Linked DNA regions of Homo sapiens: all the other regions are linked to region 2. Evidence: promoter capture Hi-C in 16 types of primary human blood cells and fetal thymus (Javierre and others, 2016). All regions are on one chromosome and are shown on one strand. Each heading gives the region's core, a stretch centred on a gene start or on the middle of the fragment in contact. The rest is flanking DNA. Distances are from core to core; before and after follow the strand shown. Region 1 overlaps ATF7-NPFF (ATF7-NPFF readthrough). Region 2 holds the start of MYG1 (MYG1 exonuclease). Region 3 overlaps EIF4B (eukaryotic translation initiation factor 4B).

Region 1 (3,062 bases), core at 479-2,978, 270 kb after region 2:
TTACAATTCAAGGTGAGATTTAGGAGAGGATACAGCCAAAGTATATCAGCTATAAACTATAAACTATCAGTCCTGAGAAGACTGTTGTCAATTAATGCCTTGTATAACTGGATTGCTCAGGAGAAGGGAGAGTAAGGCAGTGAAAGGGAAGGGGCAATAGGTTTGAGGAAGACATTATTGGTTTCTTAACCCAACCCCCATTTTTCAACCATTTTCTCTTGCTTGCCTCACTATAAAGGCTGAAAAGCAAGATATTCCTTTTTCCTATGCAGCTGGTATTAAACCTGTCACACAGTTCAGGCCAATAAGACAATGAAATCCACCGTGGTGGGGGTGGAGGATGGCACTTCTGATGTAAGGCTTTTGTCTCCTTATAAAAGGGAAAGCCAGAACAAGAGAGTTCCTGATGCTACCTGCCCCTTATTTCTTTCCCATCCTCTGATAGTGAGGCAACAGGAATGAGGATTAAAAGGTAAAAGCTAAAAATGGTACAGCAGAGAGAAAGAACCTAGGTCCTTGATAAACTTGCTTAGCTGCTGAAACAGTCCTAATTCTGGACACCTTGTGTTATAAATGTTGACACAGTTTTTTTTTGTTTTTGTTTTTGCTTTGTTTTGAGATGCAGTCTTGCTCTCTTGCCCAGGCTGCAGTGCAATGGCATGATCTTGGCTCACTGCAACCTCTGCCTCCCGGGTTCAAGCAATTCTCCTGCCTCAGCCTCCTGAGTAGCTGGGATTACAGACACACGCCACCATGCCCAGCTAATTTTTGTATTTTTAGTACAGATGGGGTTTCACCATCTTGGTCAGGCTAGTCTCGAACTCCTGACCTTGTGATCCGCCCGCCTCTGCCTCCCTAAGTGCTGGGATTACAGGCGTGAGCCATTGCGCCCAGCCTGTGTTCACACAGTTTTAAGCTACTGTTAGGTATTTGCATCTGAAACCATTCCTAACCAATATACGATTTTCAATATGTATAGATTCTACTTCATTTTCTATCTAAGGAACTTAGAAATGGAATATACAAGAAATTATTTTATTCTACATCTTCATGAATATTTATCAGTTGTATCCTAATGCTGAATTCTGTTTTCTTTTTCACATAATATACCAAATAAATTCCATCTCATCACCACCTATTGCCTCAAGCTTCCTTAGAAACAATGGCTATACACTGGGCTTTTAGGAAGAACAAGATGGTAAGAGAGTGGCACCTTACAATGCTGCTTTGGAAACTGGGGCAGTTAAAGATCACTCCTCACTAAAGAATGGAGTTTTAGACTGGAGCAGCATGTTTTCTTATTTCTCGCTGCCCCTCTTCCTCAATACCCAGTGTTTGGCTTTTTATCAAACTCCAGGGCACTCTTGGGAACTACGCTTAAGAATTAACAAGGATAGATCCATTATCTTTCCTTAGATGGCAGCTACTTACTTGGATGGGTTAAATGCTCAACAAACTTTAAAGGACCAGTGCCTAGGAGGCAGAGAAATCCCAGCAGCAATTCAGCCAGGCCTGGTCCTATGTCAGTTACATGGCTAATTGCTTTCTCCACAGCTCTTGCCTAATGGTAGACCTTTTAGTATTCTCCTATCCAGATGTAGCCACTTAGCTGGGGTACCATTAAAGTCCCCAAAGGGATAACTGTAGTTCTTAACAAAGCAAGAAAAGGTTATTTTAAAATCAAAATAATTATCACACAGCCCTATTAAGTTCTTGTTGACATTATACATTTCTATTTTTCAATCTCATCTCTCTCCCCAAATTCTTATTAGGATGTTATGAGGTACAAAATCCTTGAAAAACGTATCAAATACTTTTATCTTCTAATTTGCTACACATTAAGTGTTACAATTTCTGGATCTCACAAATGGGTGGGAAGGACAAAGTTACAGAGTGAAAAGTATGAACCTACTACATTGTGGTTTGGCTTGAGCTGCTGAAAATTTCACTGTGGAAAAACTATACTGTAAATACTTCCTGATAATACAGGAGTTTTAAAATTTTGAATGCTTACAATGCATTCAGAGTAGAGCACATACAAGTCAGTACTGAGACCACAATAACAAAAACCCTGCCCTGATCTTTAAGGCCTTATGCAGTTTAGTACTGTAACAGTCAAGCCAAAAGAAAATATATAACTGGAAGGTGAGGAGGGGGAGAGAACCAATGAGCGTGCTCACATGCACTCGTCTCTAAAACCGTCTCTAAACTTGGTTCAAGTTTACAAGGAGATTACGCACACACACTCTCTCTCTCTCTTTCTCTCTCTCTCCTTCCCTCACTTTAAAATAATACCAAAATACAGTATTAAGCTTTTGTTTTAAACAAGCTATCAAAGCTTACAGGCCCAGGGACTCGGAAACCACAGAAGAGGTTGCAGCCTGGTAAAGAAATAGGCAACGATAAAGGCTCAAATAGTTTGGCAGGTCTTCTATATAAACCATAAACTGGTCAAGTGCTCTAATTCTGCCCTGCTATCTTAATTTAATGCAGCAAAAAATTCTTACCATAATTTGTTGACATATTCATCTGATTATCTTTGTGTCTAACCAGGAAAGCTCTGATAAGCTATCTTTAGTTTTACAAAGTCAGGCAAATGGAAAACTTCAATTTTGGATGTTTACTTTCTAACCATAAGTGATATTTTTTAGAATGCTGGCCACAGACTAGAGGTCTACACTCAAAGAAGGCAGGCAGGCAGGTAGGGGCAAAGAATGAAATTGCAGCTAAGCACTGTGGCTCATGCTGGTAATCCCAGCTACTTGGGAGGCTGAGGCAGGAGGATCACCTGAGGAATTTGAGACAAGCCTGGGCAATATATATTGAAATCCTGTCTCTTAAAAAATTTAAAGAGTAGCCAGGCATGGTGGCACATGCCTGTAGTCCCAGCTACTTGGGAGGCTGAGAAAGAGAGAGAGAGAAAGGAGGTTCCCTTGAGCCCAGGTGTTTGAAGCTGCAGTAAGCTATGATTGTGCCACTGCACTCCGGCCTGGGCGACAGAGGAGGGCTCCATGTCTCTTAAAAAAAATAAAAAATAAAAAAGGAATCTACACTGCCTATCA
Region 2 (2,877 bases), core at 11-2,510:
AACGAACTAAATACCAGCAATTATAACCCCGACTGCACATGAGAATCACTCAGGAAGTTTAAAAAGAAAGCTTGGGCCCATTCCAGATTGACTAAATCAACTTGGAAGTCAAAGGAGGGGAAGTTGTACCAAGGTCTGTTTTTTTTTAAAAAAGCTCCCCTCTGTTATAATCAGGATTCAGAACCAGTGTTCCAAAGGTAAAAATCTTTCCCCATCATAGTTTTCTGATTATGTCAGACTCATTTAATACCATATTGTGTTCGTTTTTATATCTTTGGTTAGCAGGTTTTTTTTTTTTCCGAGAAGAGTCTCATTCTCACCACACCCAGCTGTGTTAGCATATTGACCGATGCATTGTAGACCCTAAATTTGTGTTAGTGACCCCACAGTGGATCACTGAGTTAAAGTTTTATTAACAATGCCAGGCGCAGTGGCTGACGCCTGTAATCCCAGCACTTTGGGAGGCCAAGGCAGGTGGATCACCTGAGGTTAGGAGTTCAAGACCAGCCTGGCCACCATGGTGAAACCCCATCTCTACTAAAAATACAAAGTTAGCCCGGGCATGGTGGTGCATGCCTGTAATCCCAGCTGTTCGGGAGGATGAGGCAGGAGAATCGCTTGAACCCGGGAGACGGAGGTTGCTGTGAGCCAAGATCGTGCCACTGCACTCCAGCCTCGGTGACAAGAGCAGGATTCTGTCTCAAAAAAAAAAAAAAAAGGTTATTAACAAACTGTAGTTAGTCGGTCGCCTGTCCTTAAACTTGCCTGTCACTTCTCCTTAACTCTAGGTTCTCCTTTTTGCTTCTAACCTTTGACTCTTATTTTTTTCCACAGCCGTCATGGAAATGATGAGTCAGAAGATTCAGCAGCTCACAGCCCTGGGGGCAGCTCAGGCTACTGCTAAGGCCTGAGAGTTTTTGCAGAAATGGGGCAGAGGGACACCCTTTGGGCGTGGCTTCCTGGTGATGGGAAGGGTCTTGTGTTTTAATGCCAATAAATGTGCCAGCTGGGCAGAATGTTGGTCTTTTCTTGGATTAAGCAAGGGACTGGTGATGAGATGGGGGGTGTGGTCGAGAGTGTGGGCCCCGTCTCAGAGCCTGATGCGCAGGGGTGATGCGATGCGCCTCTTGGAGGCTCCATCGCAGGGCCCTTTGACCAGCTGGAAGAAATCCTAGGCTGGGAGTCTGCTGCTGCTCACTCTGCAGAGCTGGTTGCCAAGGGAACGGTTGGCAAGCGGAAGTGGGGCTGCGCTGGCGCTTCCTCTTCCGGGTCGGCGCTCCTGCCTCCCTGCAGGGAGCTGCTTATGGGACACCAATTCCTGCGCGGCCTCTTAACGCTGCTGCTGCCGCCGCCACCCCTGTATACCCGGCACCGCATGCTCGGTCCAGAGTCCGTCCCGCCCCCAAAACGATCCCGCAGCAAACTCATGGCACCGCCCCGAATCGGGACGCACAATGGCACCTTCCACTGCGACGAGGCACTGGCATGCGCACTGCTTCGCCTCCTGCCGGAGTACCGGGTACGGTCCGCGAAAAGTGACCCTGGGACTGCGTGCATGCATGCCTCCGGGGTGGATGGCATTCCGCCAACAGGGTCACTCCGATAGCGCCCGGCAGCCCAAGCACCCTTCCTACCCTTCCTGCCTCCCTGAAGTCCAGCATTAATCCCCTACCCGGCGACACCCGGCAGCCCCTTCACCCCTGTGTACCTCGCAGGATGCAGAGATTGTGCGGACCCGGGATCCCGAAAAACTCGCTTCCTGTGACATCGTGGTGGACGTGGGGGGCGAGTACGACCCTCGGAGACACCGATATGACCATCACCAGAGGTAGGTTCTCAGATACCATTTATTTAACTTCCTTGACCTCAGCTTTCCTCTGTGCTCCAATTCAGCCATCCACTGCCGTAGTCCGCGTCAGCGAAAAGAACTGCTTCATCACTGAAATCAAACTCCCACTAGGACTACATCATCCTTCCGGCCCTGCCTGTTCTTCACCCATCTCCCTGGCCTGGGACCTCCTTTGGTTCCCAGGGAGTCCCTCAGGCCCCTTATCTCATCTCCTTCCTTAGCCAAGGCTTTTTTTCCATCAGCAACTTCATCACCCCAACTAAATAAACCCATCTGTGATTAATCCATTCTGGTGCCCTTGCTGCTGCACCTAACTGCTGGGCCCACATGATTGTGGCAGTTGGTGACAGTTCAGATGTGTGAAGTTTTCTACTTCATTTACACCCTTCCAAAGGGAAATCCTTCTTGCTCAAGGGTAGCCCATTCCAATCCTTTTCTTCTCCCTCAAGCCTCTACCGCATCAAACTGAGTGTCCCTGCCTCTTTTCAAAAGAAGTTGAGCATTTCCTCAGTCTCCCACCTCAAACATCCTCAGCTCCCTCCTACCAACTAAGGGAAATTTCTTCCCTTCTATTGGAGGTTAATCCTCTGTCCTGTTTCCAGTCTATTACTTTCTTCTCTGGGATTCTTTTTTCTTTTCTTTTTTTTTTTTTTTGAGACGGAGTCTCCCACTGTCGCCCAAGCTGGAGTGTAGTGGCACGATCTCGGCTCACTGCAACCTCTGTCTCCCAGGTTCAAGCGATTCTCCTGTCTCAGCCTCCCGAGTAGCTGGGACTACAGGCACCCACCACCACACCCGGCTAATTTTTGTATTTTTAGTAGAGACGGGTTTCACCATATTGGCCAGAGTGGTCTCGAACTCCTGGCCTTGTGATCTGCCCCGCCTTGGCCTCCCAAAGTGCTGGGATTACAGGTGTGAGCCACTGTTGGCCTATCCTCTGGGATTTCATGTCACAGTTCCACTAGTGTCTCTGCCTCTCCTTCCCTACAGCCTAAAACCCTTCTCAAGTATCTTCCATCTTGAAAAGA
Region 3 (2,998 bases), core at 427-2,926, 280 kb before region 2:
TTGGTAATGGTCCCAGGATGACACCAAGCCATCCTTTCCCAGAAAATTTGAATAGGGGTAGTGGTGGGCCTGCCTGAATCTACAGTAACAGTTTTCAATCAGTTTTGCCCCACAGGGGACTTCTGGCAATGTTTGAAGACATTGTAGTTGTCACAATTGGAGGGAGTGCTGCTGACATAAGTAGAATCCAGGGGTTAATTCTATAGGGAATAGGACAGTCCCCATCAACAAAGAATTATGCAGCCCAAAATGCATGTCAAGATTGAGAAGACTGATTGATCTAGATGAACATTAAATAGATGATAAATAGATTAGCTGCCTAACAGCACGTTGGTCACAAAGGGGACCTAATTTGTATATGTTTCAGGGACTCCTGGCCCATACAGAATTTGAGATAGCTAAGCATTAAACCAATAGGAAAAAACGGGAGGAAAAGAGCCACCTGGGGTTGAATTGGAGCATGTACTTATGGGGCCTGAGGTAACTGGGATGACAGTGTGACGTGAAAGTGAAAAATAGGGTAAAATGGGGGTTTTCTATGTGTGAGAAATATTGGGCAAAGTTTTTATGAGATAACTTACGGTTTTTGTTTTAATGTATCTGTAGACAGGGATGATCGTTCTTTTGGCCGTGATAGAAATCGGGATTCTGACAAAACAGATACAGACTGGAGGGCTCGTCCTGCTACAGACAGCTTTGATGACTACCCACCTAGAAGAGGTGATGATAGCTTTGGAGACAGTAAGTTTGTTTTTATGAAGTTAGCTTCCTCTGTGCTTTGGGAGGCTATTTAGTAATAGGACAAATGTGTTACAGATGATCAGATCACATTAACAGATAGAAGGAGGAAAGCAGATTAAGAAAAATTTTGGATAGTATCTGAAAGAACTGATAGATGCAGGAAACGAATTTGATAAATTAATAATTTTTTTTGAAAACTTAACCAAACAAAGGGACAGACATTTCTCTTTTTTTGGAGACAATTGTTTATAAAGAAACCCAAACTGGGCATGGTGGCTATAATCCCAACGCTTTGGGAGGTCAAGGCAGGTGGATTGCTTAAGGCCAGGAGTTTGAGAGCAGCCTGGGCGACAAAACAAGACCCTGTCTACCAAAAAGAAAAAGAAAAAGCTGACGTGGTGGTACGCACCTGCAGTCCTAGCTGTTCAGCAAGCTGAGGCAAGAGGACTCCTTGAGCCCAGGAGGTCTAGACTGGGTGACAGAGCGAGACCCTGTCTCAAAAAAAAAAATCCAACAGATTCTACAAAGTGAGCTATTTGAAATAAGAGTTCAGCATGATTGCTGAGTGAAGAGCAGCATACAAAGATCAGTTGCATTACTTTTTGATATATATATATATTTTTGAGACGGAGTCTCGCTGTGTCGCCCAGGCTGGAGTGCAGTGGCGTGACCTTGGCTCACTGCAACCTCCACCTCCTGGATTCAAGTGATTCTCCTGCCTCAGCCTCCCAAGTAGCTGGGACTACAGGCGCGCGCCACCACACCCAGCTAATTTTTGTATTTTTAGTAGAGATGGGGTTTCACCATGTTGGCCAGGATAGTCTTGATCTCTTGACCTCATGATCCGCCCGCCTTGGCCTCCCAAAGTGCTGGGATTACAGGCGTGAGCCACTGCGCCTGGCCCATCAGTTGCATTACTATATGCTTGTAGCAAACAATTAAAATGTAAAATTTTTTTTTTTTTTTTTTTTTTGAGACAGAGTTTCGCTCTTGTTGCCCAGGCCGGAGTGCAATGGCATGATCTCAGGTCACCTCAACCTCCGCCTCCTAGGTTCAAGCGATTCTCCTGCCTCAGCCTCCCGAGTAGCTGGGATTACAGGCATGTGCCACCATGCCTGGCTAATTTTGTATTCTTAGTAGAGATGGGGTTTCTCCATGTTGGTCAGGCTGGTCTCGAACTCCTGACCTCAGGTGATCCTCCTGCTTCAGCCTCCCAAAGTGCTGGGATTACAGGCATGAGCCACTGCACCTGGCCTAAAATGTAACTTTCTAAAATAAAAATATTGATTCACTTTAAAAATACTCAAGATATAGCAGTGAACAAAGATACAGCAGTGTAATTTTTTTCTAATAAAAATTGATTCACTTAAATGCTCAAGATACAGCAGTGAACAAAAACAAGAAAATCCTGTCTTTATTGGGCATACATTATTATAGTGGAGGGAAGAGACAGTGTGTGAATAATTAAACAGTTGGGGTGCGGAAAGATAGGTGAGTGGGAAATATCATGGGGTAGGAGTAGAGATTAATTACATACATCACTTTAACAAAGACCTTTATGGGGAAAATTATGCAACTTTATTAAAATACACAAAAGTAGACCACACTATTTTTAAAATGGAAAGAAGCTACTACCTAGTAAAAATAAATAAATAGTGGTTTGTCTGTAATCAAATACTTAATAGCATAACAACAGGGATAAAATTCAAAACCTGTTACATTAAGGGGAAAAAAATTGTGTATAAATTTGAAAACAATACCATGTAGTATTAATGCATAAGTTGTAAAATTATAAAGCTACGCATGGTAATTTAACCACCCTTTTAATTGTTGGTGGGGATAGGGAAAATTCTGTTTTTAGTCTGTAACATATTTCTTTTAAACAAAAAACAAACATGGCAAAATATGACATTCACTAAACCTAAGTAATAGGTTCATAAGTTTGTTATAATGGTGTCTTTACTTTTCTGTATGTTTGAAATAGTTTAAGTAAAAACAGACCAACTTAAATTTACAAGCTCTTTGTTTTGTTTTGTTTTGTTTTGTTTTGACACAGTCTCTCTGTGTTGCCCAGACTGGAGTGCAGTGGCAATCTTGGCTCACTGCAACCTCTGCCTGCCAGGTTCAGGGTGTTCCTCATGCCTCAGCCTCCTGAGTAGCTGGGATTACAGATGCGCACCACCACACCTGGCTAATTTTTGTATTTTTTAGTAGAGATGGGGTTTCACCACGTTGGCCAGCTGGTCTCTAACTCCTT

What was found. Contacts are between HindIII fragments. The CHiCAGO score rates a contact against its expected background, and 5 or more counts as called.
Region 1: a contact is called between a fragment that was not itself captured here and the fragment with the promoter of MYG1 in region 2, in 1 of 17 cell types (erythroblasts). The highest score is 5.2, in erythroblasts.
Region 3: a contact is called between a fragment that was not itself captured here and the fragment with the promoter of MYG1 in region 2, in 2 of 17 cell types (erythroblasts and naive CD8 T cells). The highest score is 10.7, in erythroblasts.

What each region holds. Positions count from the first base shown.
Region 1 is chr12:53,566,156-53,569,217 of GRCh38, forward strand. The region is part of intron 2 of ATF7-NPFF (ATF7-NPFF readthrough); the gene reads right to left. All of the region lies in intron 2 of ATF7 (activating transcription factor 7), which reads right to left. All of the region lies in intron 2 of LOC124902937 (a long non-coding RNA gene), which reads left to right. Among named protein-coding and RNA genes, the nearest start is that of ATF7-AS1, 54 kb to the left of the region's middle. RefSeq lists an enhancer at 2,901-3,062. The HindIII fragment of the contact is 1,164 bases long and covers 1,147-2,310 here.
Region 2 is chr12:53,298,435-53,301,311 of GRCh38, forward strand. MYG1 (MYG1 exonuclease) reads left to right here and starts at 1,261. Exons shown (of 7, transcript NM_021640.4): 1 at 1,261-1,519; 2 at 1,716-1,828. The coding sequence starts at 1,304. PFDN5 (prefoldin subunit 5) reads left to right here. Exons shown (of 6, transcript NM_002624.4): 6 at 835-1,016. The coding sequence ends at 911. RefSeq lists enhancers at 233-1,432, 936-1,025, 1,066-1,165, 1,071-1,365, 1,176-1,235 and 1 more. The HindIII fragment of the contact is 10,124 bases long and covers 69-2,877 here.
Region 3 is chr12:53,021,887-53,024,884 of GRCh38, forward strand. EIF4B (eukaryotic translation initiation factor 4B) reads left to right here. Exons shown (of 15, transcript NM_001417.7): 6 at 607-741. Among named protein-coding and RNA genes, the nearest start is that of EIF4B, 17 kb to the left of the region's middle. The HindIII fragment of the contact is 3,982 bases long and covers 1-2,998 here.